Linked DNA regions of Homo sapiens: all the other regions are linked to region 6. Evidence: promoter capture Hi-C in 16 types of primary human blood cells and fetal thymus (Javierre and others, 2016). All regions are on one chromosome and are shown on one strand. The core of a region is centred on a gene start or on the middle of the fragment in contact, and the rest is flanking DNA. Distances in the headings are between cores, read along the strand shown. Region 1 overlaps CSTPP1 (centriolar satellite-associated tubulin polyglutamylase complex regulator 1). Region 2 holds the start of PACSIN3 (protein kinase C and casein kinase substrate in neurons 3). Region 3 holds the start of LOC124902671 (a long non-coding RNA gene). Region 4 overlaps CSTPP1 (centriolar satellite-associated tubulin polyglutamylase complex regulator 1). Region 5 overlaps CSTPP1 (centriolar satellite-associated tubulin polyglutamylase complex regulator 1). Region 6 holds the start of CSTPP1 (centriolar satellite-associated tubulin polyglutamylase complex regulator 1).

The links. The method cuts DNA at HindIII sites, captures the fragments that hold promoters and counts their contacts. A CHiCAGO score of 5 or more calls a contact.
Region 1: a contact is called between a fragment that was not itself captured here and the fragment with the promoter of CSTPP1 in region 6, in 6 of 17 cell types (M1 macrophages, megakaryocytes, M2 macrophages and 3 more). The highest score is 8.7, in M1 macrophages.
Region 2: the fragment with the promoter of PACSIN3 here is called in contact with the fragment with the promoter of CSTPP1 in region 6 in 1 of 17 cell types (M2 macrophages); the score reaches 5.3 in M2 macrophages.
Region 3: a fragment that was not itself captured here is called in contact with the fragment with the promoter of CSTPP1 in region 6 in 8 of 17 cell types (M1 macrophages, megakaryocytes, M2 macrophages and 5 more); the score reaches 24.7 in M1 macrophages.
Region 4: a contact is called between a fragment that was not itself captured here and the fragment with the promoter of CSTPP1 in region 6, in 5 of 17 cell types (M1 macrophages, megakaryocytes, M2 macrophages and 2 more). The highest score is 9.7, in M1 macrophages.
Region 5: a fragment that was not itself captured here is called in contact with the fragment with the promoter of CSTPP1 in region 6 in 6 of 17 cell types (megakaryocytes, M2 macrophages, M1 macrophages and 3 more); the score reaches 13.6 in megakaryocytes.

The regions. Positions count from the first base shown.
Region 1 is chr11:47,117,996-47,122,667 of GRCh38, forward strand. The region is part of intron 3 of CSTPP1 (centriolar satellite-associated tubulin polyglutamylase complex regulator 1); the gene reads left to right. Among named protein-coding and RNA genes, the nearest start is that of ARFGAP2, 57 kb to the right of the region's middle. The HindIII fragment of the contact is 2,018 bases long and covers 1,265-3,282 here.
Region 2 is chr11:47,184,750-47,188,841 of GRCh38, forward strand. PACSIN3 (protein kinase C and casein kinase substrate in neurons 3) reads right to left here and starts at 1,685. Exons shown (of 11, transcript NM_016223.5): 1 at 1,600-1,685. RefSeq lists silencers at 1,314-1,633, 1,684-1,783 and an enhancer at 1,455-2,341. The HindIII fragment of the contact is 15,006 bases long and covers 1-4,092 here.
Region 3 is chr11:47,135,725-47,139,836 of GRCh38, forward strand. CSTPP1 (centriolar satellite-associated tubulin polyglutamylase complex regulator 1) reads left to right here. Exons shown (of 9, transcript NM_024113.5): 4 at 1,921-2,005. LOC124902671 (a long non-coding RNA gene) reads right to left here and starts at 1,152. Exons shown (of 2, transcript XR_007062666.1): 1 at 1,093-1,152. The HindIII fragment of the contact is 949 bases long and covers 784-1,732 here.
Region 4 is chr11:47,066,837-47,071,385 of GRCh38, forward strand. The region is part of intron 3 of CSTPP1 (centriolar satellite-associated tubulin polyglutamylase complex regulator 1); the gene reads left to right. Among named protein-coding and RNA genes, the nearest start is that of ARFGAP2, 110 kb to the right of the region's middle. The HindIII fragment of the contact is 1,559 bases long and covers 2,322-3,880 here.
Region 5 is chr11:47,084,891-47,089,346 of GRCh38, forward strand. The region is part of intron 3 of CSTPP1 (centriolar satellite-associated tubulin polyglutamylase complex regulator 1); the gene reads left to right. Among named protein-coding and RNA genes, the nearest start is that of ARFGAP2, 90 kb to the right of the region's middle. The HindIII fragment of the contact is 693 bases long and covers 1,569-2,261 here.
Region 6 is chr11:46,934,573-46,938,956 of GRCh38, forward strand. CSTPP1 (centriolar satellite-associated tubulin polyglutamylase complex regulator 1) reads left to right here and starts at 2,189. Exons shown (of 9, transcript NM_024113.5): 1 at 2,189-2,279. The coding sequence starts at 2,234. RefSeq lists an enhancer at 2,047-2,256. The HindIII fragment of the contact is 8,451 bases long and covers 1-4,384 here.

The DNA of each region.
Region 1 (4,672 bases), core at 1,024-3,523, 180 kb after region 6:
CAGCCTCTTGAGTAGCTGGGATTACAGGTGCCTGCCACCACGCCCAGCTAATTTTTGTATTTTTAGTAGAGACGGGGTTTCACCATGTTGGTCAAGCTGGTCTCAAACCCCCGACCTCGTGATCCACCTGCCTCGGCCTCCCAAAGTGCTGGGATTACAGGTGTGAGCCACCGCGCCTGGCCTCTTGCTGTATTTCATTAATTTGATCTTCAATCACTGACACCCTTTCTTCCACTTGATCGAATCAGCTATTGAAGCTTGTGCATGCGTCACGAAGTTCTTGTGCCATGGTTTTCAGCTCCATCAGGTCATTTAAGGTCTTCTCTACACTGTTTATTCTAGTTAGCCATTTGACTAATCTTTTTTCAAGGTTTTTAGCTTCCTTGCGATGGGTTCGAAAATTCTTCTTTAGCTCGGAGAAGTTTGTTATTACCAACCTTCTGACGCCTACTTCTGTCAACTCTTCAAAGTCATTCTCTGTCCAGCTTTGCTCTGTTGCTGGTGAGGAGCTGCGATCCTTTGGAGGAGAAGAGGTGCTCTGATTTTTAGAATTTTCAGCTTTTCTGCTCTGGTTTCTCCCCATCTTTGTGGTTTTATCTACCTTTGGTCTTTGATGTTCATGACCTACAGATGGGGTTTTGGTGTAGATGACCTTTTGGTTGATGTTGATGCTATTCCTTTCTGTTTGTTAGTTTTCCTTCTAACAGTCAGGTCCCTCAGCTGCAGGTCTGTTGGAGTTTGCTGGAGTTCCACTACAGACCCTGTTTGCCTGGGTATCACCAGCGGAGGCTGCAGAACAGCAAATATTGCTGCCTGATCCTTCCTCTGGAAGCTTCGTCCCAGAGGGCAGCCACCTATATATGAGGTGTCTGTCGGCCCCTACTGGGAGGTGTCTCCCAATTAGGCTTCATGGGAGTCAGGGATCCACTTGAGGAGGCAGTCTGTCCTTTCTCAGAGCTCAAACGCTGTGCTGGGAGAACCACTGCTCTCCTCAGAGCTGTCAGACAGGGACGTTTAAGTCTGCAGAAGTTGTCTGCTGCCTTTTGTTCAGCTATGCCCTGCCCACAGAGGTGGAGTTAGAGGCAGTAGGCCTTGTAGAGCTGCGGTGGGCTCCGCCCAGTTTGAGCTTCCCAGCCGCTCTGTTTACCTACTCAAGCCTCACCAAAGGCAGATGCCCCTCCCCCAGCCAGGCTGCCGCCTCGCAGATCAATCTCAGACTGCTGCGCTAGCAGTGAGCAAGGTTCTGTGGGCGTGGGACCTGCCAAGCTTGGCACAGGAGAGAATCACCTTGTCTGCCAGTTGCTAAGACCTTGGGAAAAGCACAGTATTTGGGCGGAGAGTGTCCCGTTTTTCCAGGTAGTCTGTCACGGCTCCCCTTGGCTAGGAAAGGGAACTCCCCGACCCCTTGTGCTTCCTGGGTGAGGCGACGCCCCACCCTGCTTCAGCTCGCCCTCCATGGGCTGCACCCACTGTCCAATGAGTCCCAGTGAGATGAACCAGGTACCTCAGTTGGAAATGCAGAAATCACCCATCTTCGGCATAGGTCATGCTGGGAGCTACAGAACGGAGCTGTTCCTATTCAGCCATCTTGGAACACTGCCCACTTCTTTTTTTTTTTTTTTTTTTTTTTTTTGAGATGGAGTTTCACTCTTGTTGCCCAGGCTGGAGTGCAATGGTGCGAGCTCGGCTCACCACAACCTCCACCTCCCGGGTTCAAGCAATTCTCCTGCCTCAGCCTCCCGAGTAGCTGGGATTACAGGCATGCACCACCACGCCCAGCTAATTTTGTATTTTTAGTAGAGACAGGGTTTCTCCACGTTGGTCAGGCTGGTCTCGAACTCCTGACCTCAGATGATCTGCCCACCTTGGCTTCCCAAAGTGCTGGGATTACAGGCGTGAGCCACCATGCCCGGCCTTATCCCCATCTTAATGATGATGGAATTGAAGCTCAAAAAATTTAAGTAACTAACTTGCCCCAGATCATTTGTCTAGTAACCAGTGGAGCTGAGCTATGAACCCAGAACCCAGGATTGACTAACTCCAAAAAATGTGCTTTCAACCATGAGGACAATCCTAAGAGTCACCTGAGCTATTTAATTAAATGTGGATTCTCACTCTCTTGACCCCAGGGATTCTGATTTTGCTTCTGTGGGTTTAGGGTACAGGTGATTCATGATCATATGTTGAGATGCATTGAGATATACTACATTGCTTTTAGGGTTTCACATCTGTATAGGGAGGCATAGGGATAAAATTCATTGAACGTTTTTTTAACTGTGTACTGTGTGCCAGTCCCCTTGATATGTATAAGCAAGTGAGATGGAGTCCCTACCCTCAAGACTTGGTCTAATGGGACCTTGGAACCCTGCCTTGACTCTGTCAGACTACCTCACTTGAGCAAGCCACTTACTCTTTAAGCCTTAGTTTCTCTATCTGTAAAATGGAGATAGTCAATTACTTACTTCAGAGCAAAAGGCCTGATCTATGATCCTGTGATTCCCAAGGCTCTTTTAAGTTGTGAAGTCACAGGGTGGACTAACTTCCAATGCTGAGAACAATGATGGGGTGGTGATGGGTCAGATAGACAAATAAATCAATAATTCAACCACCAATAAATAGTGGAATATGTAAAAGCATGCGCTTTGGAATCTGGCAGATCCATGATTCAAAGCTCGAATGTGCTTGCCTCTTGCTAGTTACGTAACTGGGCAAATTACTTCACTGCCCTGTGTCTGCAAGTAAAATGAGGACAGTACTTACCCTATAGGACTGCTGCGAGACATTCAATGAGAGTAATGATGCACAGCACTCAGTACAGCAGCTTAAAAACAGGTAACACCATGAAGCACTACAGAAGCAGTGATCAATAAATGGTTTAGAGACAGTAAACATCCAAAGACGCAGAAGAGTTTTACAGTTTTACAGCCTACTATTTTATAGTTTAAATTTGGTTACATTTTTTGTTGTTTTTAATATAACTTACATGGAAATCTTTTTAAAATGTATATGATACGTATACAGTGGCCTTCCCTGCCATCTTATGTAATTTAACTCCTCTAGGCATCTAAGCATCATCTTTGTCATCATAAATTATTTTACTCTGCTGGAAAAGATCATTGCCTTCAGGACCCACTGAAATGTACCCTAAATGTATCCAGATTATATTTAAAATATATTTTTCTGCCTCTCTGTTAGGTCATGTAGTTAATGCCTAATTATAGTTCTTTTTCCTCTCCTTGTTTACCCTGTCTAATCTGTATTGGGCTTAGAAACTAGTGGCCAAGCTTGTTAAAACTGCGAGTATAATCAGAGTATGTCTTGGAACCCTGTAAGTTAGCCACACGAGCTTTTGTATGTGGACTTCATGAAATCTTCTTGCCTACTTGGAGACTTATTGACATTTAGATATTTGGCATTGCCTATTAGTTAAGTTTTAAATTGACTAGATATTACTGTGTAAGGTACAGATACCTGAAAAAAAATTCCATTATTCTCAGCTTTGGAAGTTGATCCAATCTATGACTTCACAACTTAAAAGAGCCTTGGGAATCATGGGCTCATAGGTCTGGCCTTTTACTCTCAAGTAAATAGCAATTGATTATTATCTCTTTTTTACAGACAAAGAAATTGATCCCTAAGTGTAAGTAGCTTGTTCAAGTGAGGTAGTCTGGCAAAGTCAAGGCAGAGTTTCAAGTCTCCCAAGCCTGCCCTTCCGCTCTGCCACACTGTTCCCAGGAGGAAACAATCATCTTAGGCTGTAGAAAGGAAGGAAAACTATCAATAAATATGGTTAAAGATTAGAAAAATGGCCCAGCACGATGGCTAATGCCTATAATCCCAACACTTTGGGAGGATTGCATGAGCCCAGGAGTTTGAAACCAGCCTGGGCAACATAGTAAACACAGTGACATCCCTACAAAAAAAAAATTGCTGAGCATAGTGATATGTGCTTGTACTCTCAGCTACTCTGGAGACTGAAGCAGAAGGATCACTTCAGCCCAGGAATTCGAGGGTGCAATAAGCTATGATCACACCACTGTACTCTAGCCTGACAACAGAGCAAGACCCTGTCTCAAAAAAAAAAAAAAAAAAAAAAATATATATATATATATATATATATATATTAGAAAAATGAGATCTATGGAGGATATTGTAACTATTCAGTTCTATGCCCTTATTTTGATAGATGTTTTTCCTGTCACTCCTGCCCTCATTTGAAGGGGTTTATAACCTTAGTATGCCATCAGTGAGCCTGAACATCTCTATAAGGGAGGACCAAGGGGCATTATAATAAGATCCAAAAACATAGAATTATAAAAGATGATGATCTTTTCATCATGGATGAAACAAGGTGTAGGGAAGGAACTAAATGGCATTCAGGTGACTTAGAGGGGGAAGAAAGAGCCACTGAGAACGAGGGACATGGAAACAGGTTTCTGAAGGAAGATACATACTTGACCATCTCTGTGGATGGTTTCCTGCCTGCCGGCCTGCCATCCTTCCTTCCACAGCTTTGTTAAGATACAATTTATATACCATAAATCAAAATGGCTTTTTAAAAAATAAATCTTCTTAAATAATTCTTTTTTATTTTTTATTTTTTTTGAGGCAGAGTCTTGCTCTGTCACCCAGGCTGGAGTGCAGTGGCATGATCTCAGCTCACTGCAACCTC
Region 2 (4,092 bases), core at 435-2,934, 250 kb after region 6:
AGAGAAAGAGAGCTGCTGCCATGAATCACAGGGCTCTGGAGCCGCCCCAGTCCAGCCTCAGGAGCCTGGGGCCCCTTGCCTGTTCCAGCCTCCGAGTTCCCTGCTCCCCAGAGAGCTGCCCCCCACCCCTTCCCTCTCTCTGGCCCCAGAACAGAGCAAGCTGTGTGTACCGGGCTGGCACAGCTCCCTCCGGCCTCCCAGAGCAAACACAGGCCCAAGCCCCGGGTGCAGCCAGGCCCCACAGCCCCAGCCTGACCTCTCAGCAAGCAAGCAAGGAGGGCTTGCACCTTGGCCCCCATTGAGCAGGTTGGCACCCTGTGCCTCCTGAGCTCAGCAGAGACCCAAATCAGTCCCCACCGCAGGCAAGAGCTCAGAAAGCAGGTAATGCAATCTTCCCAGCCCCGGGAGCCAGCACGTTCGGCTCCGAGAGGTCTTCCTGGGCTTGGCAGGGTCTCCTTGCAGCTGCACGGGCCAAGGTAGGAAGTCCCTGGTTCAGGGAAGACCCAGTCTCCCTACCTGAGGCCTGAAGGTACCCGGCCCCAGACCAGCCCCAACCTCTTCCAGAAGCTGGGGGCTTGCCCCTGGGAGGGAGCTCAGCCATTCTGCCTGGCCCATCCCTGGAACCTGAGTCACAGGCTGCGCCCAAGGGCTTCTTTCCCGGGCAGCCCCTCCCGGTGCGCCCGCAGCTCTAGGATTTGAGGACAGAGCGGGGGGGAGGGGAGGGGGCGTCAGTAGGCTGGTCCGAAGAGGGACAGCGAGGTTAGAGGGGCTGGAACCAGAAGCCAGAGCCAGCCAGGAGATCAGGAGGCTGGGGGAGGGGGTGGCGCAGCCAAAGCGGGAGGAGGCAGGGCCAGGGAGGGGCATAACAAAGGGGCACTTTTGGAAACCCGACCTGCCGGCCGGGGTGCCTGCTTCCAGATGACGCACTCCGAACCCCAGCCTCCACTCCAGAGCTCGGCGCCCAGAGGCTACGCGCCTCTGGCCTCAACCCTTATGGACCGCGCCCCTCGACAGGACCCCTTGCCGCCCGGAGCTGCATAACTCGGAGCCCGTGGAGCCACGCGGAGCGGCAGGGCCAGGCCTAGCCACCGAAGCTCTAGACTTCTTGGCCAAACTTGTTGAACTTGGTCTTGGCGGGGGTGGGGCCACTGATCACCGCCAAGGGGAGGGGACGCCCCCTGCCTGGGCCGGCCTTGCCGTGGGCTCCAGATGGTGGCCCCGGGCAGCGGACCCAGGAATCGGGGCTCGCTGCATAGGGCGAGGGATCGCCAGGGAGCGAGGACCCTCTGGGGCCTCGGGGCGGGCGCGAGGCGAGCGGACGGGGGCCCTCGAGGGGCCCCTGAAGACGGCTCAGCCCTCCAGCGCCGGCGCCGCCTCCCCCGGGCGGCCTGCGGAATTGCGAAGCCCGCGGCACCGCAGATGGGACGGCCCCTCGGCGCGGCTACGGCCCTTCCCGTCGGCACGCAGAGCGGGGTGGCCGGGGGCTCCCTGGGCGGGAGTCGGCTCCATTGCAAACTTCAGAAGCCGGAGCAGGAGAGGGCGGGCTCGAGCCACCGCACCCGCCGCCGCCTACCCGCGCGTCCCCTCCAGGGCACTCACCGCGTCCTCCCTGGGCCCCTCGGCGGGTGGGGGTCCGGCCACGCTCCGGCCCGAGTCCTGCCGCTCCTGGGCCCGCGCCGCGGCCTCCCGGAGCGCGCCGGGCCCTCCCCCGGGAAGCCCGGCCCCCGGCCCCCGGCCCCGCCCCTCTCCTGGCCGCCGCTGCCTCAACCCCACGCGGCGGGGCAGCGGGGCTGCAGGCATCGCGGCGACCAGCGGCTCTTGTGGCGCGGGTCGAGGTTTCTCTGCTTCGCCCGTGTGCGGAGTGCCTGGGCGGGCTCCCCAGGGTTGCGCCCCGGTGCCGCAGGGAGCCAGATTTCGGCTTTGCCTCTCCCGGACCGTTGCAGAGCCTGGGAGACCCGAGGGAGCAAGAAGGGACCGGGCCGGCACGGGCAGCCTTGGAGAGGGGCCGGGGGAATTACACTGCCTTACATTTTTAGCTGCACAGCTTGTTTAGAAATTGGCTCAGGCGAGGCTCACAACCACCCCTTGTAAGCATTAGGATTCCCACTGTACAGATGCAAAAACTGAGGCTCGGGGGCTTTTCAGAGGCTTGCCCAAGATTTCCCTCTAGTCAGGCAGGGCTGGGACTCCAAAACCGTGCCCTACCGTTCCACAGCTGCCCTGCTAATCTGGGGCGCCTTCTAAGGCCTGAGACGAACACGCGGTGGGGGTGGGACAAAAAGGCCTAAGCTCCTCCCGCTCCGAGTTCTTATTTCCAGATTTTGTACCACGATTCATTCTTACCCTTCGCCCCTCCACCCCCTTTATCAGTCTGGTACATTTTTCCATATCGCCACGATGCCACCCCACGCTAAATAAATCCCTTCTCCCTCCTCTCTCCCTACTTCCCTCTCCCCGCTTTCCCCCGGGGGTGAGATTTTGCAGAGCGGCTCCGTCTGTTATTTATATCCACTGGAGCGGTCCAAGAATGTTCCGAAGCTGACCTAATCGCCACCTGCTCGGCCTCTCCGCCCCTCCCACTCTCTCCTGGGCCCGGTGACCCAGCGGCGGTGCCCTGAGCCTTGAAGACCAGGGGGAGCGCGGACCAACGGGGTCGAACGCCCGGGCGCAGAAGGTCCCGGACGCAGAAGGTCCCGGGCGCGCAGAATCGCAGCGGGTCGGAGAGCCCCGGCGCTCTCAGAGGAGTGCGCCCCCAGGGACGCGGCTCTGAGCCCTGGGAAGCTGAGGCGCCTGGCTGCGCCCTCTGAAGCTCGTACTTTTCCTCCCACCCTCAGCTCCCTGAAGAGTGTGAGTGCGTGCGCGCGGAGTTTTAAACGGCAGCTTTAAAAATAGCAAAATTATGTTGTTTCTAAATCCAGGAGGAATCACTGACGCGTTCTTTACGCAGATGAATCCGCTCACAAAACGGGAAAGGGACCTGGAGAAAATGAATGGGGGTAATTTTGCCTGCCGAGGGCTCACTTGCTGGGCAGTGCTAATGGAAGGGTAAAACTGCCTCCCCAAGACACCTGTGGGGCACCCAAGGCGCGCCACCTTTGGCCTGAGGATTCTGGCCGTGTTTGGCAAATCATAGCTGAGTAGTGAATCTGAAACCTGGGATGTGGTTTCTGAGACCAATTTCAACACCCACTCTCTCTTAGGGCTTGGACAAGTCCCTTATCTCTATTTCTACCTCTATAAAACATGACAGGTGACCAGCTGACCTTCCGCTGAGCCATGAGCCCCAGCTAATTAATGATTGTAAAAAACAACTGCAGATCAGAGGAGCTGGGAAAATGGCAAATCACAGCCACAGGGTTTTGTATTCTTTAAAATCAGTTAACATCCCTCCTAGCGCCTGAAGGCCTTTAGGCACCTAGACCGAAGTGTGAAAACACAAGAATGAAATTAATTACAGGAGCCACCTATTAAAACCTCATTAAAAATAAAGTTGGCAGCCAGGCTGTGGGATCTGGGAAAGCCAGGCCATAGAGAGACTCAGAAAACAGGGCTGTTCATCAGACCACAAAGAGAAGGGGATGTGGACTGGAAAACATCTGGCTTCCCTTGGGCTCAAGTCTGGGAGCAGAAAGCAGAAATGTTGCAGCTGATCTTAATTGCCCCTGAGGTACTGTAGGGGAAAAAAAACAACAAAATAAAACCCAGAGCATAGGGGGCTGCTTCTAAGCTGAAAGTAGACAGACATGCCTTTGGAAAGCCAGCTCCAAGCTAATGCTACCCCCAGGGCTCCCATTCTGCGCTCTATGGCCAGAGCCCTTAACATCCACACTGCTCCATCAGTGCTGTCCTCAACCCAGAGTTCAAGATGAGATGTCAGTGGACAGAGGGCTGCATAAAGACAGAAATCTGGTCGGGCGCGGTGGCCCACGCCTGTAATCCCAGCATTTTGGGAGGCCGAGGCGGGTGGATCATCTGAGGTCAGGAGTTTGAGACCAGCCTGGCCAACATGGTGAAACCCCATCTCTACTAAAAATACAAAAATTAGCTGGGCATGGTGGCGGGTGCCTGTAATCCCAGCTACTTAGGAGGCTG
Region 3 (4,112 bases), core at 8-2,507, 200 kb after region 6:
GTCCTCACTTAACATTTAGAAGAGTCAAGTTCCAGAAGTGGTGAGCAGGATGTATTCTGTTTTTCATATTTTTAAGAGCTTTTGTTGTGTTAGAGAAGCACGCAGTGATTTTTGTAAATCATTCTTCTGTCCTTGGAAGCAAGTACTTGAAGTACATGAGTTAGAATAATATCAAAAACCTGAAGAGGGCCTAGGGTCTAGAAACCAGGAAGCTAATGTTGACTCCTAGCATTGTCTTTCTTAATTAAGTAACTCTCTCTCTCTCTCTCTCTCATTTTTTCATTTTCCTTCATTCTGTTATCTTCCCAAGGATATTTTGTAGGTAATTTGGGGGATAAATGTAAGTTCCTATGAAACACTCTGACTCTCCCTAAGAATGCTATCAGATATATCCACCAAAGTTTAGCCTAGAAAAGCACGATGATTCAAAGATAGAACTTTCCTTTATTTACTCCCTGCCCTGCCAGAAATCACTCTTCTCTTTTCTCTACATGGGGAGTTCTGGAGTGAGAATAAAGTGGGAACACATTAGACTCAGTGGATTTTCTCCCTTCCCTTCGCCTTTTTCCTCACCCCAAGCCTGAGACCACGAGTGGCAATGACTCCCTCCCTTGAAGAACAAGACCTCCTGCCAGGCTGTGCCCGAGGTCAGGCAAGTGGGAAGAGGAGAGTGCCACAAAACCATCTTGATCCTTTGACCTATATTGACGCTGAGTCTGTTCCTTTGGTGTTTCTGACTTTGGCAGTGTGGTTAGTCAAACTCTCTGTCCCCACCTTGAATTAAGCTTTGATGAAAAAGTACTAGGAACCCAGGCCTTTCCCTGGAGATTTGGGGTTTTTGTCTTGGAAAAGCATCAACCAAACTAACGGGGGCAGGAGATCTGGATTCCTGTGGCTTGGGCTAACTTAGGTCCAAAGAAACCAAGTGCCTGTGATCATCATCTTCATTCCCCAAATGTAGCCATGCCCTCTGGATTCCCTCCTCTCACTCATCCTCCTCCCAATTAGGCAGGCTTCCGGGTGGATTGCTCTCACTTTAGCATTACCAGGCCCTTCCATATTCGAAATGCTTTGATATATGATAATACTTACACATTCTTACTCCTTGGCTGATCTAAAATCTTTTGCCTTCAGTACATGCAGCAACAAAATAACTTAAGCATCAGTGTATTTCTTCTCCCTCAGGATCCTATAAATTTCTCTGAGATTCACCTCTCTGGGTTCTCTGCTGGACCACAGAGCCTCATCCTGGCTCACCTCTCCCAAAGCACAAAGCATTGCTTCTGTATATCAGGAATCATTTGGTTGCCTTGACTGTATATCTTGGACCTTTGTCTTGGCTTCCTATAATAGGATGACCAGATTTGTGTTCAGCCATTCAAAAGAAGCCAGCCTGCTGCAGTACTGGATGACAGAGTAATGAGGTCTGTGGGTTTCTATGCTGTACTCTTCTCCCTACACAGCAAGACTGTTTGCGTTAGTACTGCTTCCAGATATTCTGTGGATGGTCTTTGGGCATGTGGTGGGAAACGTTACCATGCCAGAGAATTTCAGCAAATTTAACCGGCTTTGAAATGACTTGTTCTTCCAGATTTTTATATACAAGGAAAACCAAACTAAAGAAGACTGATGAAGGTGCCTCTCTTGTTTGCTCTCTTCACCCGACCAATTTTCATACCAGTGAAGCTCCTTTGGTCAAAATGGTGTAACTGGATGCCTCCCACCCTGGAAAAGCTTTGTAGAAATACTGATCTTAAAATCTCACACCTGGAGGTTAGAGACTAGCATACCCTTCACACTGACTTGCTTTTAAAAGAACAGCTCTACCAAGACCAGGTCTGAAACTCATGAAATGAACAAAAAGAGGGCAGTGACTTGAAATGCAGAGACCTAATGTGTTCCTCTCCATTTCCACTTCAGATTTGCTGACCATGAAAGAATATCACTGTTTGCTGCAATTACTGTGTCCTGATTTCCCGCTGGAGCTCACTCAGAAAGCAGCCAGGTACGTCTCCTGGACTCTTGAAACCAACTCAGCTCTCTGTGGGCCACTGCTTCCTAGAGAAACCTGGAGTGTATACAAATGAAAAAAAGGAGCATTTAGGGAAGAAACTGGCAGTGGGAGAGGGGTCTATTTGGGATGTGCCCCAAAACATAATACATTCTGCATTTCCAAAGGGAAGCGAAATGATCCTTTGTGGTTTCTGTGGGGAGCCTCAGGGTCTGAAGATAGAGTTGGAGGGTGGTGAGATGAAGAGGCAGAAAAAGCCCAGACCCCTCCAATACCCCCACACACACACACCCTAGAGGATATTCTGAGAAAAGAGGGGCTGCATTTGTGTGTTTTCACGCTACTGTAAAGATACTACCCAAGACTGGGTAATTTATGAAGAAAAGAGGATTAATTGACTCACAGTTCCGCGTGGCCTCAGGAAACTTACAATCGTGGTGGAAGGCAAAGGGGAAGCAAGGACCTTTTTCACATGGTGGTAGGAGAGAGAAGTACAGACAGGGGAAATGTCAGACGCTTATAAAACCATCAAATGTCTTCAGAACTCACTCACTATCACAAGAACAGCATGGGGGAAACTGCCCATGTGATCCAATCACCTTCCACCAGGTCTCCCTCTCAACACCTGGGGATTACAATTCGGGTTGAGATTTAGGTGGGAACACAAAGCCTAACCATATCAGGGGGCAAGGGTTGGCAGTGACTTGTGATGAAGAGAGTTGAGGTTGGGGACTGGAAGGGCATAAAGGTGATAAAGCCCCAGTTGAAGGAAAGGCACATTATATTATTTATGCCAGAAGAAGGTTTTCAAGATCAGTCCAGAACCAGGACTTGGCAGAAATAGTTAGAAGCCCCTAATTTCTGTGTTGGGTTTCACCATCATTCACAATTTTTAACCACATGAGGTAATTGGACTATGCCTCAGTTAACTTTTACTTACTTAACTCAAAACCTGAGCTAGGCCAGACACGGTGGCTCACGCCTGTAATCCCAGCAGTTTGGGAGGCCAAGGCAGGCAGATCCCCTGAAGCCAGGTATTCAAGACCAGCCTGGCCTACATGGCGAAACTCCATCTCTACTAAAAATACAAAAAATTAACCAGGCACGGTTGCGCTTGCCTGTAGTCCCAGCTATTCGGGAGGTGGAGGCAAGAGAATTCGCTTGAACCTGGGAGGCGGAGGTTGCAGTGAGCAGAGATCGTGCCATTGCACTCCAGCCTGGGCGACAGAGCAAGACTCCGTCTCAAAAAAAAAAAAAAAAAAAAAAAAAAAAAAAAACCTGAGCTAGGGTTGCAAATGGACGTACAGCAAAAATCATGTTTATCGAAGAATGCCTACCTTCCCTATATCATACTGAATGCATTTACCTTCATTGTTCTATTTAAATTTGTTTACCTTAACTATCTCACCTAATCCTTGTAAAAACTGTTACTTCCCTTTAAAATGATCCTTTGTGGTTTCTGTGGGGAGCCTCCGGCTCTGAAGACAGAGTTGGAGGGTGGTGAGAGTATTAGGCAAACAACAAAACACACACACAAATACATACCCACACTCCCACACACACCCCTAGAGGATATTCTGAGAAAAGAGGAGGCAAGGGTTGGCAGTGACTTGTGATGAAGAGGGTTGCGGTTGGAGACCAGAAGGGCCTGAAAGCAGCTGGGCGTGGTAGCTCATGCCTGTAATCCCAGCACTTTGGGAGGCCGAGGTGGATGGATCACCTGAGGTCAGGAGTTCGAGACCAACCTGACCAACATGGTGAAACCCTGTCTCTGCTAAAAATACAACAATTAGCCTGGCGTGGTGGCAGGCACCTGTAATCCCAGCTACTTGGGAGGCTGAGGCAGGAGAATCACTTGAACCTGGGAGGCAGAGGTTGCAGTGAGCCGATTGTGCCACTGCACTCCAGCATGGGGGACAGAGTGAGACTGAACGTCAAAAAAAAAAAAAAAGGGAGCATGAAAGTGATGAACCCCAGTTGAGGGAAGGGTACTGTTACTGCTCACTTCACTGAAGTGGGAACTGAGGCTCAGACGGGTGACAATGTTGTGCGAATATACTGATAGCTTGTAAGTAGCAGTGGCAGAACTGGAACCGCAGTC
Region 4 (4,549 bases), core at 1,851-4,350, 130 kb after region 6:
ATTAACCTTTCTTAAATGTATGTATAGCCCACATTTATTTCAATGTTTAATATTAGAGGTGTGTAGGGTCTTTATTTAGAAGTTGGGTGATTATTTGTGACCAGAAACATGCCATAGGAACTTAACTCTTGTTTATGTCGATTAGCCTATGATGAAATTGGTTTTATTATACCTTGTTTCACTTAAAGTCAGTTTCCAAGAACCTATTGATGAGGTTGAGGACTTTTATTTGGTTTTAAGGTAAAAGTGTGCCAAAAAATTGAGATTCATACAGATAAGTAGCTTCAAATACTAATAGATTTGTTTTTAACATTTTGACTGATCTTTTTTTAGCTTTACTAATGTTCAGAAAGGGAGTAATAGTAAATTTGTGTTTCAAAGCTGAGTTGCTCACATTCCTAATTAATGAGTAATCACTCTGGAGAAATCAACAAATTTTCTCAGCTAGTTTAAAAATTTTATTGTTTGGAGAAAAATAAATGTATATTATAACATCATATATAAGTTGTTCAATGGTATTATTTTTTGAAAAGATCAGATGACTCAAAGGCTAGTATGACTGAACTGTGTCTGCCCCCCCCAAATTCCCATGTTGAAGCCATACCTCCAATGTGACTATATTTGAAGAAATTCCTCCTGTAAGGAGGAAATTAAGGTTAAGAGAGGTGATAAGGGTAGGGCTTCATCAGATAGGAAGGATTAGTATCCTTGCAAGAAGAGACACCGGAACTGGTGTCCCTGTAAGAGGAGATACCAGAGAGCTGCCCATGCCCCTCCACGTGAGGACACAGTGAGAAGGCAGCTGTCTGCAAACCAAGGAGAGAGCCTTTACCAGACACCAACTCTGCTGGCACCTTGATCTCAGACTTCCAGTCCCCAGAACTGTGAGAAAATTAATTTCTGCTGTTTAAGTCACTCAGTCTATGGTATTTGTTACGGCAGCCCGGACAGACTAACACAGAGGTCTTCTTTTTAACTCACAGTTTCAGCACAGAAAGATTCATTTTATTTTGCATGTTGACTCCAAAACCTGTTTTGATTTATCATTAACATTTTATCTGAAGTTGTGAGTATGGCCGTGTTGTGACCCTGCGTTATCAAATTGAGCCATCTAATTTATTTCCACATTGATAAACTTATATTCAATGGATTTTAGTTTAAGGTAGAAATAATGGTAATTACTTTTTTTTTTTAACTGTAGTCCTCATACCTGCCTTATGTCAATCAGGAAACTTTAGTATAAAAGAATAAATTTTGATACAACTGCTTATATCCCTGCAAATAACTCAGAAAGATCTGCAGCTTAAAGACTTTGTCCTAATAAAACTGACAGCCTGTATCAATCTGTATGTTATCCAATGTAATATTTTTTAAAATGTAAATGTTAATTTTGAAAACTGCATGTGTAATTTTGGCCAGGCACAGTGGCTTATGCCTGTAATCCCAGTACTTTGAGAGGCTGAGGTGGGCAGATCATTTGAGGCCAGGAGTTCAAGACCAACCTGGCCAACATGGTGAAACCCTGTCTCTATTAAAAACACAAAAATTAGTGAAGCACGGTGGCGCGCGCCTGTAATTGCAGCTACTCAGGAGGCTGAGGTGGGAGAATTGTTTGAACCTAGGAGGCAGAGGTTGCAGTGAGCCAAGATCATGCCACTGCACTCCAATATGGGTGACAGAGCAAGACTCCATCTCAAAAAAAAGAAAAGAAAACTTCTTGTATAATTTTAACTGCTAGTGCTTATCTACACAATATTTTTGGCTGCCTTCTCTTTTATGTGATCCTCTACTCCTTGAATTTTTTTCTGCCATTGCCTTTCCAGTCACCGTACAAATATGACTACCTTATACTACTTTGTTAGTATCTTAACACTTAAAGACTTCCATTTTATAATTATCAAGCATTTTATAAAATAATAAATTTACTTTGCATTTGCTTCTATACCAGATCATATAAGTAAAAGGAGAGCTTGACAACATCTGTCTTCTCATCCAGTATAAAGATTTTATGTAATCTCAGCTTTCATGCCAATATAGTCCTGGATTAAAAAGAAAATAAAAAGACCAGAGCAGATAATAATTTCCTAATCAGTGGCACATTTACAGTTGCAAATATATATATATATTTGTGGAGTAGGAGAAATTCCACAAATGAGTTAACCTATGAGCACAGGTTGATAGTGTGTGTATATTAAAATTTACTGTGTAACATATTTAGTGTACATTTTGTTTTTCTTATAGACTTTAAATAAAAGTATGTTTTTAATAAGAATTGAAATTAAACTTTTATAGAAACTTCTAAGTGCCTCTGCAAATTTCTAAGCTTCTGTGGAACATGGTTTGAAAACTACTGATCTACTTCAACCCTTCCCCATTGTGTAAATATAAAAATCAAAGCCAAGGTCTCCTAGTCACTTGGTAGGACCTGTAAAACCAAGACTAAATTCAGGTCTTCTGGTTGTCAGTCAAATGTTCTAGCCATTATCATGCTCTGCTGCTAAATGAACATATACATTTTGTGTCATTTAGTCTCTGAGATGAATGTATGATTTTGTAGCCCAAAACGTAATTGTAGTAGTTAAGGCATAAGAATGCATTGCCCATGTGATTTTATTTCTTCTTTCATTGTTTTACAGATGAAGGTAAAGTAGCTACAAGTTCTTTAATTTTAAGTTCCATTTTACCTATCTTCAAGAGAAAAAATAGTTACTCCACCTGGTTTAAAATTTAAAAATAATAATTCTTATTAGAGAGGGACGTATAATACTTGTTTATTGGATATTTCATGCTTTGAAGGACATAATAAGCAGATTTTGGAAGTTCTTTGAAAATACAAGAGTTTTATTGTTGTTGTTGTTGCTGTTTATTTTATTATTATTATTTTTTTTTTGAGACAGAGTCTCACTCTGTAGCCCAGGTTGGAGTGCAGTGGCACGATCTCACTCACTGCTACCTCCTCCTCCTGGGTCCTGGTTCCAGCAATTCTCCTGCCTCAGCCTCCCAAATAGCTGGGATTACCGGCATGTGCCACCATGCCCAGCTAATTTTTGTGTTTTTAGTAGAGACGGGGGTTTCACCATGTTGGCCAGGCTGGTCTTGAACTCCTGACCTCATGATCCACCCGCCTTGGCCTCCCAAAGTGCTGGGATTACAGGCATGAGCCACCGCACCCGGCCGTTGTTGCTTTTTAATTTTAAAGTTAGGCTGAAGTGAGACTGTAACACACAACGTTATTAAACGCATTCTCTAAAGTAGATCTACCAAGCCAGGCACAGTGCACATGCCGGTAATCTCACTTGAGCCCAGGAGCCCAGGAGTTGGAGAACATAAGTGCACTATGAATGTGCCTGTAAATACCCACTGATCTGCAGCCTGGGCAACAGAGTGAGACACCATCTCAAACAGGGTGGGTGGATGGATGGAGAGAGGGGGAGAGAGAGAGAGAGAGAGAGCTGGAAGTATGTAAAAGCAAATATAAATAATGTTGAAAATTTAATATTTTCCAGTTTTATTTTGCTTGGCATAACCTGCTCTTGATTCCCACTGATACCGCCTGACCCTAATTTAGAAACCTAATTAGACACCTTGGGGAGGTTGTCAAAAAGACAGATTCCTTGATCCCACCTCAAACGTACTCGACCACAGCCAGCAGGCAAGGGGCCTGGGAATTAATTTTAACAAGCATTTCAGGTGATTCTTAGGATCACTCAAGTTTGGGAAACATTAAGCGGTTTCAACCCTGCTTGCATATTAGGATCAGCTAGGGTGCTTTTAAAAAATACTGTTGCCTAGGTCCCTCCCCAGACCACTTTAATCAGAATCTTTTTGGTTGGGACCCAGGCATTTTAAATGCTCTGCAGGTGGTTCTCATACACACTGAAGCTTGAGAACTCCTGCAAGACAGTTGGAAATGTAATTCTCTGAAGCACAGCCCTGGTCTTGTCACTGCTGCTGAGAACCTCAATGGTTCTGTATTGCCTACTAATGAAATATGAATTTATGACTATCATAAGGCTACTCATGACCCAACACCAGCTTTCCAACCACTACTCTCCTACTTATAGACTATACTCTGGCCACACAGAAACACTTTCCCCAAACACTCCTTGTGCTTTCCCCCTTTCACACCTCTGTTTTTGCTTTCCCACCATGTAGAACTTTCCCCCATGTCTGTCTGTCACAGTCCTGCCCATCCTCAAATAGACCCAGCTCAAGTAGATTCCCATTTCCTCCTGTCCTTGCCCTCCCCTGCCTCCATTCAAAAGCGACCTCTTAGGGCATTTGTCCTATCATACCTTATATTTAGTTATTGGCAGATACATAGTCTCTTTCATAAAATGCCATGTGGAATTAAGAATAAGTGGATTTTTATCTTTCCTTTTTCCCCATCTAGATTGTAAATTTGTAATATCAACTATCTGTTTACTTCTGTGTGAGGCACTAAAGAGAAAGACTTTAGAGTCAAATGGCCCTAGGTTCAGGTGCCTTTTTTATTGGATATGGCTGTGTGACCATGGTCAGGTTAATTTTTCCAAGCCTTAGTTTTCTC
Region 5 (4,456 bases), core at 665-3,164, 150 kb after region 6:
ATTATTAAGAATCGCCGGGTGCGATGGATTACGCCTGTAATCCCAGCACTTTGGGAGGCCAAGGTGGGCAGATCACCTGAGGTCAGGAGTTTGAGACCAGCCTGACCAACATGCCCCTGACCAACATGGAGAAACCCCATCTCTACTAAAAATACAAAAAAAAATTAGCTGGGCGTGGTGGTGGACACCTGTAATCCCAGCTAGTCGGGAGGCTGAGGCAGAAGAATTGCTTGAACCCGAGAGGCAGAGGTTGCAGTGAGCCAAGATCACGCCACTGCACTCCAGCCTGGCAACAGAGCGAGACTCCATCTCAAACAAACAAACAAACAGTAAGACCCGAAATATTATTTTTGAACCCCAAGCTCACTTTTGTATAGATATACCTACTCTAGAAACAATGACAAAACTAGGAATTGTGACACAATACTAAAGACAATATTAAAAGGCTTTTTTAAAAAGTTACATTGGGAGCAAAAAGAACAAGGAGGCCTAGGTGGGTGGTATCATATTAATGAATGAAAGAAAGAAAATAGAGCATTCACCTCTATTTTGGTTTAGTCTTCTCTGTCAAAGAGGATACTCTTTGGACTGGAAAAGATAAAATAAACACTGGTTCCAGGGAATGCAGTCAAACGTAGTTGAGATTGAAATAGGTCATGCAACTGCTTTAAATGATTTCAAGTTCCTTAATCTTATATTTCAAGATACTGAGGACTAGGCTGGGCGCAGTGGCTCATGCATGAAATCTCAGCACTTTGGGAGGCTGAGGTGGGTGGATCACCTGAGGTCAGGAGTTCGAGACCAGCCTGGCTAACATGACGAAACCCCGTCTCTACTAAAAATACAAAAATTAGCTGGGTGTGGTGGCAGGCACCTGTAATCCCAGGTACTAGGGAGGCTAAGGCTGGAAAATCACTTGAACCCAGGAAGCAGAGCCAAGGTCGCACCATTGCACTCTAGTCTGGGTGACGAGTGAAACTCTGTCTCAAAAAAAAAAAAGATACTGAGGACTAGTGGATGAGCTGGCTGAAGCATTGCTGGCAGTCTCTGAGAAAGTGTGCATGGGGAGGGGGAATTAGGGGATGGGGGTCGGGGATGGATAGAAATTTCAGAAGATTAGAGTCAAGGAACTAATATTCAGGAGGTCACTTCAGCAGACTTGACATCCATCTTAGGTAATATTCTTAAACTACTTATGAACAAGAATAAGTTAAGAGGCCTGGCACAGTGGCTCACGCCTGAAATCCCAGCACTTTGGGAGGTGGAGTCGGGCGGATCACTTGAGGTCAGGAGTTTGAGACCAGCCTGGCCAACATGATGAAACCCCATCTCTACTAAAAATCCAAAAAAAAAAAAAAAAAAAAAAATAGCTGGCTGTGGTAGTACATACCTGTAATCCCAGCTACTTGAGAGGCTGAGGCAGGAGAATCCCTTGAACCCGGGAGGCAGCGGTTACAGAGAGCCAAGATTGCGCCACTGCACTCCAGCCTGTGTGATGGAGTGAGACTCTGTGGAAAAAAAATTTTTTAAAAAGAATAAATTAAGAAAAGGAAGTTGGGATCACCATAAGCTTACCAGAATTTATTGAAGATGGAGACAGAAAAGGGGAGGAAGTAGGGGGTAAAGGGGGAAAGGAAGAAGGGAAGAGAAGATAATAAAGGGGAAGGGAAGGGACAGGAGGCGAAGGAAAAGGAATAGGAAAAGATTCCAGGCTTAGTGGGTAAAGAAGACTTGATTTCAACCCTGGCTCTTTTACTTCTTAGTAAAATGATGTTAGGCAAGTTATTAATTGCTATAAGCTAGATTTCCTTATTGGTAAAATTGAAATAAGAGAAACTACTTCATAGAGTAGTCCTGATGATTAAATTAAATAATGTGTATAAAGTGCTTATTTATCAAAAGCAGTGATAACTGTGAAGGGGGTGAATGATGGTAATGACAATAATACTGACGGAGAAGGAACGGGAGTAGACAATGTAAACTTACTCCCTTTTTGAAGAGATTATTACATTGGTAAGTTGACAGAAATCTGTACAGTATAGCTATATTTAGTATAGCTATATTTAGTATATTTGTTTAGCTAAATTGGATTTCTACAAGACTTTGACAACATCTCCATGACATCCTTGCGAACAAGGAGAAGGAATATAGGCTGGATGATATAGGCTGGTTGAATAGTCATACTTAAAGTGTGCTGATTAATGGGTTCCTGTCATGCTGAAATTCTCCAGGAGTGTAAATCTGGACTATGTACTTAGCCAAGCTTTTTTAAAAAATCATTATTTGCATAAGAGCATTGATAGCAGGCTAATTAAATTTGGGAACAATAGCTAATAAGCTGACTGAAAAAAACAGAACCTAAAAAGAAATGGTATAATACAGAGCAAAGAATATGGCCTTAATGTCATGGATCTATCACTACTAGCTGTGTGGCTTTGAGTAAATTGCTTAACCACCTGAGCCTTTTGTTCCTCATTTGCATGGAGATAATACTACATATTCCATGTGGTTGTGAGAACATAAAAGATAATATATGTGTATTATCACACCTGTAATCCCAGCACTTTGGGAGGCCCAGGGTGGGCAGATCACAAGGTCAGGAGATCGAGGCCATCCTGACCAATATGGTGAAACCCCATCTCTACTAAAAATACAAAAATTAGCTGGGCATGGTGGTGCGGGCCTGTAATCCCAGCTACTCAGGAGGCTGAGGCAGGAGAATCACTTGAACCAGGGAGTCGGAGGTTGCAGTGAGCCGAGATCGCACCACTGCACTCCAGCCTGGCAACATGGCGAGACTCAAATATATATGTGTATGTCAAATGTATGTGTGTGTGTGTGTGTGTGAATTAGTTATCTATTTCTGTGTTATAAATCTCCCCCAAAAAACCTGGGGGCCTAAAACAATACACATTTATTATTTCACACAGGTTCTAAAGGCTGGGAATCCAAGAGCAGCTTACTGGGGTGGTTCTGGCTCAGAGTCTCTTCTAAGGTTGAAATCAAGATTTTGATTGGGACTGCAGTCATCTAAAGGCTTGAATGGATCTGGAGGGCCTGCTTCTAAGCTCAGTCATGTGGGAGGCCTCAGATCTTTAGCACATGATCCTCGTGATATGAGGAACTGGCTTCCCCAGAGCAAGTGGTCTTAGAAGAAGAGAGCAAGCAGGAAGCCACAGTGCCTTTATCACTTGGCCTCTGACATCACATTCTGTCGCTTTTGTTTTATTTTCTCCATTAGAAGCGTGTTGCTAAGTTTAGCTCATATTCAAGGGGAAAAGAATTAGGATCCACCTCTTGAAGTGGGGGAGTATCATAGAATTTTGTGGGCATATCTTAAAACTGCAACAATCTAAAAAGTACTCAGTACAGTGCCTAGCACATAAGTGCTCCATAAATGGCAGTTGTTATTCTACTATTAATAGTCTACACTTAATATACATATACAATTAATATACATGGTCCCTACTATGAAACCGGTGTGGGTAGGACAAGATAAACTCATGATTTCTTAGATTCCTGGAAAACACAGAAAAAGAAGTACCACATATGACTACATTAATTACATCTGTTTTGTACACCAAAATGAATGGATTATTTTTGCACTGCATGTAATGCACTAAGAACAGGACTAGTAAAAATAAATTTTAGTAATATTTATTTATTTATTTATTTTGAGACAGCGTCTCTCTCTTGCCCAGGCTGGAGTGCAATGGCACGATCTCAGCTCACTGCAACCTCCACCTCCTGGGTTCAAGCGATTCTCCTGCCTCAGCCTCCCAAGTAGCTGGGACTACACGCATGCACCACAACACTGGCTAATTTTTGTATTTTTAATAGAGATGGGGTTTCACCATATTGTCCAGGCTGGTCTCGAACTCCTGACCTCAAGTGATCCACCTGCCTCGGCCTCCCAAAGTGCTGAGATTACAGATGTGAGCCACTGTGCCCGGCCAAATTTTAGTAATATTTAATAGGCATACATAAAATGTATAGTCTGTAAATATGAGTGATATGAAAAATTCGAATGACAACCTAAAAGTGATATTATATGGTTTTGTTAAAGAGTTTTATATGTACATTTAAATATAAGTATTGATCATCTGAGAACTCATCAAAGCTTAACTGAATAATGTATCAACTTGTCTTTCTGAGTGTCCTTTTCTCATTTCCATTTAAAAATGTGCCACAGCTAAGACTGACAGGCCCCAGTCTGCAGCAAAGATGGGGAAGACTTGGTAGTTCACACGCCTCCCCTGAGGGCAAGGAGTAATTCTGGGGGGATGTAAACTAACAAACATAAAAGTATTATATCGGCAAAGGGGTCGATTAAGTAAAAGAGTTGATGTTGACAGTAAAAATTTAGAAGCAATAATTAATGTGGCTGAATCACTAGATAATTTCCTCTTTATGTATACATTTATATGTGTATATATATATTTATATATGGGTCCAT
Region 6 (4,384 bases), core at 939-3,438:
AATAAATAAAAGCCAGGTCAACAAACCCTAAAAAAAGAGACTGTGTGGTTTAGTGGTCAGACCACTGGCCTGGATGTTGGGATAGCTGAGATCCAGTTGTAGCTCTACCACTATGTGGCTGCATGATGCTAGACAAGTCACTAGACAAGTCACTGTTGTGACTTGTGCCTCAGTTTCCCTAGTTAGAAAATGGAAAAGTGCCTTAGAAAGGTTTTTTTTTTTTTTTTTTTTTTTTTTTTGAGACGGAGTCTCGCTGTGTCGCCCAGGCTGGAGTGCAGTGGTGCGATCTTGGCTCACTGCAACTTCTGCCTCCCCGGTTCAAGTGATTCTTCTGCCTCAGCCTCCTGAGTAGCTGGGATTACAGGCGTGCGCCACCACGCCTGGCTAATTTTTGTATTTTTAGTAGAGATGGGGTTTCTCCATATTGGCCAGGCTGGTCTCGAACTCCTGAACTCGTGATCCGCCCACCTCAGCAGAAAGTTTTTATGAGGACAAATAAGATTATTTGCAAATAGCTACAAGTTGCTTGGGAATAAAGTAAAATTATCACTTAATAATTACTATGGTATTACCTTATTAATAAAATAGTAAAAAGCCACAGTTATGGAACATATGAACCTCCCATAACCTCAAGCTAGATGGGGGAAGCAGATAAGAAGGCAATTAAAAAAAAATCAGATTTGCTGGACTTCACACCAAATACCAAATTAGTAAATTTGCCTCAAGACACTAAGCCCTGCTCCTACTTTGGCTCTGTCCTTTTAACCTCACCACATCCAAACTTAGAGTGACTCACAGGAGCCTAGAATTGAGACACATATACAATTTTAAGGGAAAGCAAGAATTAGGAGGTTTGAGGCTCCTTACTGGAGGACGCTAAGAATAGGCCACTCGGAACACAAAGAGAAGAACCTCCTCTTTCCTTTTCCTCCCAGTGTAGGTGGTCTACTGGTTTCCCAGTCATTCCTTTGATAGCTTGATTTTGTTTTCTTTGTCTCTTTTTCACAAACCTCACCTTGTTGGAGGGGGAGGGCACTAAAAAAGTGAGGACAGAGTGGCTTTTTCTGCTATGTCTGAACTGTGTCTAGTGCTACAGATCTCTGACCTGTTGTCAGGAGTGGAGAGGGGCGAAAAGAAATATTTAGGAACTTGAAAACCAGTGAATATTCTCTTAAAGAAGAAGTGAGCAATTGGGCATATAGGGAAAAAAATCTAACTGGTGTCCTCGTTTCTGCAGCCCCTCTCCCTCAAGAAGAGCAATGTCTTGGTAGGAAAAAGGAAAGACACCTGGGAAAGGTACCAAATAGTAAGGGCTAGGAATAGAAAGAAGAACCAAAGATAAAAAGGAATTGAGCCTGGGCGCGGTGGCTCACGCCTGTAATCCCAGCACTTTGGGAGGCCTGAGGCAGGCGGATCACCTGAGGTCGGCGGATCACCTGAGGTCAAGAGTTTGCAGACCAGCCTCGCCAACATGGTGAAACCCCATCTCTACTAAAAACACAAAAAATTAGCCAGGCGGAGTGGCGGGCGCCTGTAATCCCAGCTACTTGGGAGGCTGAGGCAGGAGAATCGCTTGAACCCGGGAGGCGCTGGTTGCAATGAACCGAGATCACGCTACTGCACTCCAGCCTGGGCGACTGAGTGAGAATTGAGAAGAAATGGCAATTAGTTCAGAGGACTTAATGAGTACCTTTTGTGTGTCCAGCCGTCATAGGCAGAAAAGACACATCTCTGACCTCTAGAAGCATCCAGGGTATATGCATACGTAAGCACTTTGTAGCAATTTAAGATAGTAAATACCAAAGAGATAAAAATAGCTAATGGGATACTAAGTGTTTATGGGGGCCAAAGGGCGGGGGCTATTACTGAGTTAGGATAAACAGTGTATAAAAGCAGGGATAGTTATGAAATTCAGAAACTGCGTATATGGGCGGCTGACAGTAATTCTTCGACACTGGGAAACATAACGGATTCAAAAGAATTCTTCATCTCAGATTCCTCTAAAACCAAGTCTTCAAGAATGGGAGTCCAAAGAAACCTGGACCATCGTGAAGCGACTGCCCCCGGAACTTGAGTGGCCAGCTCCACTTTGCGACACGGAGACTGTTTGTGTGACACCTCCTCCAGCTCCCGTCCCCCTTCCGCCGCGTGGGTGCCATGGCAACGGAGAGAGACGGCAACCTGGGTTCCGGAAGCCGGAGAGCTGGAGCTTTGAAGCCACCCCGGTCAAAGGATGCTGAGTCCGGAGCGCCTAGCCCTACCGGACTACGAGTATCTGGGTAGGAACCCCCTTTAACTTTGGGGAGGGAAAGACGTGCAGACGAATTAGGCCAGGGTCTGGGAGGAGGCGGGGGCGGGGTCTGAGTGGGATCGGGTCCGGGTGGTATGGGGAGGGGCGGAGAGGCGGGGGTTCCAGGGCCTGAGCCTGTAAGGCCGAGCAGGAAGGAAAAAAGCACCTGGGAAGTAAAGAATGTTTGAAGTGTAGGGGCTGGAACTCAGGCAATGTGGATTGTGTTCAAATGGGTCAGGTTGGCGTTGAGGATTTGGGGCCCTGTTGGGGTATTATTGATATGCTGGTAGTGGAGTAAGAATAACCTTGGAACCTCAAGTGCCAAATCAGTCAGCGAACATTTCGAGCTTTTCTTTTTCATTAGGCACTGTGCTAAGCATTTTTCATGCATCATTCTTCATTTGAATTTCTCAACAGCCCTAGGAGGAATTACCGTGTTTTCTTCCAGTTTTGCAGGTGGAGAAACTGGGGCTGAAGAGGTAACTTGCGTTAAGTTAGGCCACACAGCTAGAAAATGGTAGCGCTAGGATCAGAACCGGATTTGCCCACTCCAACAGAACTTGAGATATTGACTTGGCTCTTGAGCTAAGACTGTATATGTAGTACTTTGTTGAGCATCTTTAGTGTATAAGGCATTTAATGAATGAAAAAAGGCACACACACGCATAGATATGTACACACACACACATATGCACACAATACACATTTTATTTTATTTTATTTTTGAGACGGAGTCTAGCTCTGTCGCCCGGGCTGGAGTGCAGTGGCGCGATCTTGGCTCACTGCAAGCTCCGCCTCCCGGGTAGCTGGGACTACAGGCGCCCGCCACCTCGCCCGGCTACTTTTTTGTATACTTAATAGAGACGGGGTTTCACCGTGTTAACCAGGATGGTCTCGATCTCCTGACCTCGTGATCTGCCCGCCTCAGCCTCCAAAAGTGCTTGGATTACAGGCGTGAGCCACCGCGCCCGGCCACAATACACATTTTAAATAATTCATAGACTTTTATTTTTTTAAAGACGTTTTGTTTTGTTTTGTTTTGTTTTTTGAGACAGAGTTTCTCTCCTGTTGCCCAGGCTGGAGTACACTGCAACCTCTGCCTCCCGGATTCAAGCGATTCTCCTGCCTCAGCCTCCCGAGTAGTTGAGATTACAGGCATGCGCCACCACGCCAGGTTAATTTTATATTTTTAGTAGAGACGGGGTTTCACCATGTTGGTCAGGCTGGTCTCAAACTCCTGACCTCAGGTGATCCGCCCACCTCGGCCTCCCAAAGTGTTGGGATTACAGGCGTGAGCCACTGCACATGGCGAGAAGTTTTAAGTTTACAGAAAATTGAGCAGATAGTACGGCGAGTTCCCATATACCTTGGGTCTCCCTCACTCACAGTTTCCGCTATTATTTACATCTTGCATTAGTGTGGTACATTTGTTACAATGGATAAACATATATATTTATAATATATAATAATATATTATATATTATTATTATTATATAGATATATTATTATAGATACATATTATTAACTAAAGTCCATAGTTTACATTAGGGTTCTTTGTGTTGTTCAGTTCTGTGGGTTTTGATAAATGCATGTCATGTATTCACCATTCCATTATCATACAGAATAGTTTCACTGTCCTGAAAAATCCCCTGTGCTCCACCTATTGATCCTTCTCCCTCCCCCTGCAGCCCTTGCCAACCACTGATCTTATGGTCTCTAAAGTTTTGCCTTTTCCAGAATATCATGTAGTTGGAGTCATACAGTGTGTAAATTTTTCAGATGGGCTTCTTTAACTTAGCAGTAAGCATTTAAGTTTCCTCCATGTCTTTCTGTGGCATGATAACTCATTTCTTTTTATTTCTGAATAATATTCCATTGTATGGATGTACCATGCACATCTTTTTTTTTTTTCTTCTTCTTTTTTTTTTTTTTTGAGACAATGTCTGGCACTGTCACTCAGGCTGGAGTGCAGTGGCACTATCACGGCTCACTGCAGCCTCAACCTCCGGGCTCAAGTGATCCTGCTACCTCAGCCTTCCAAGTAGCTGGGACTACAGGCACATGCCACCATCCCTGGTTAATTTTTTAATTTTT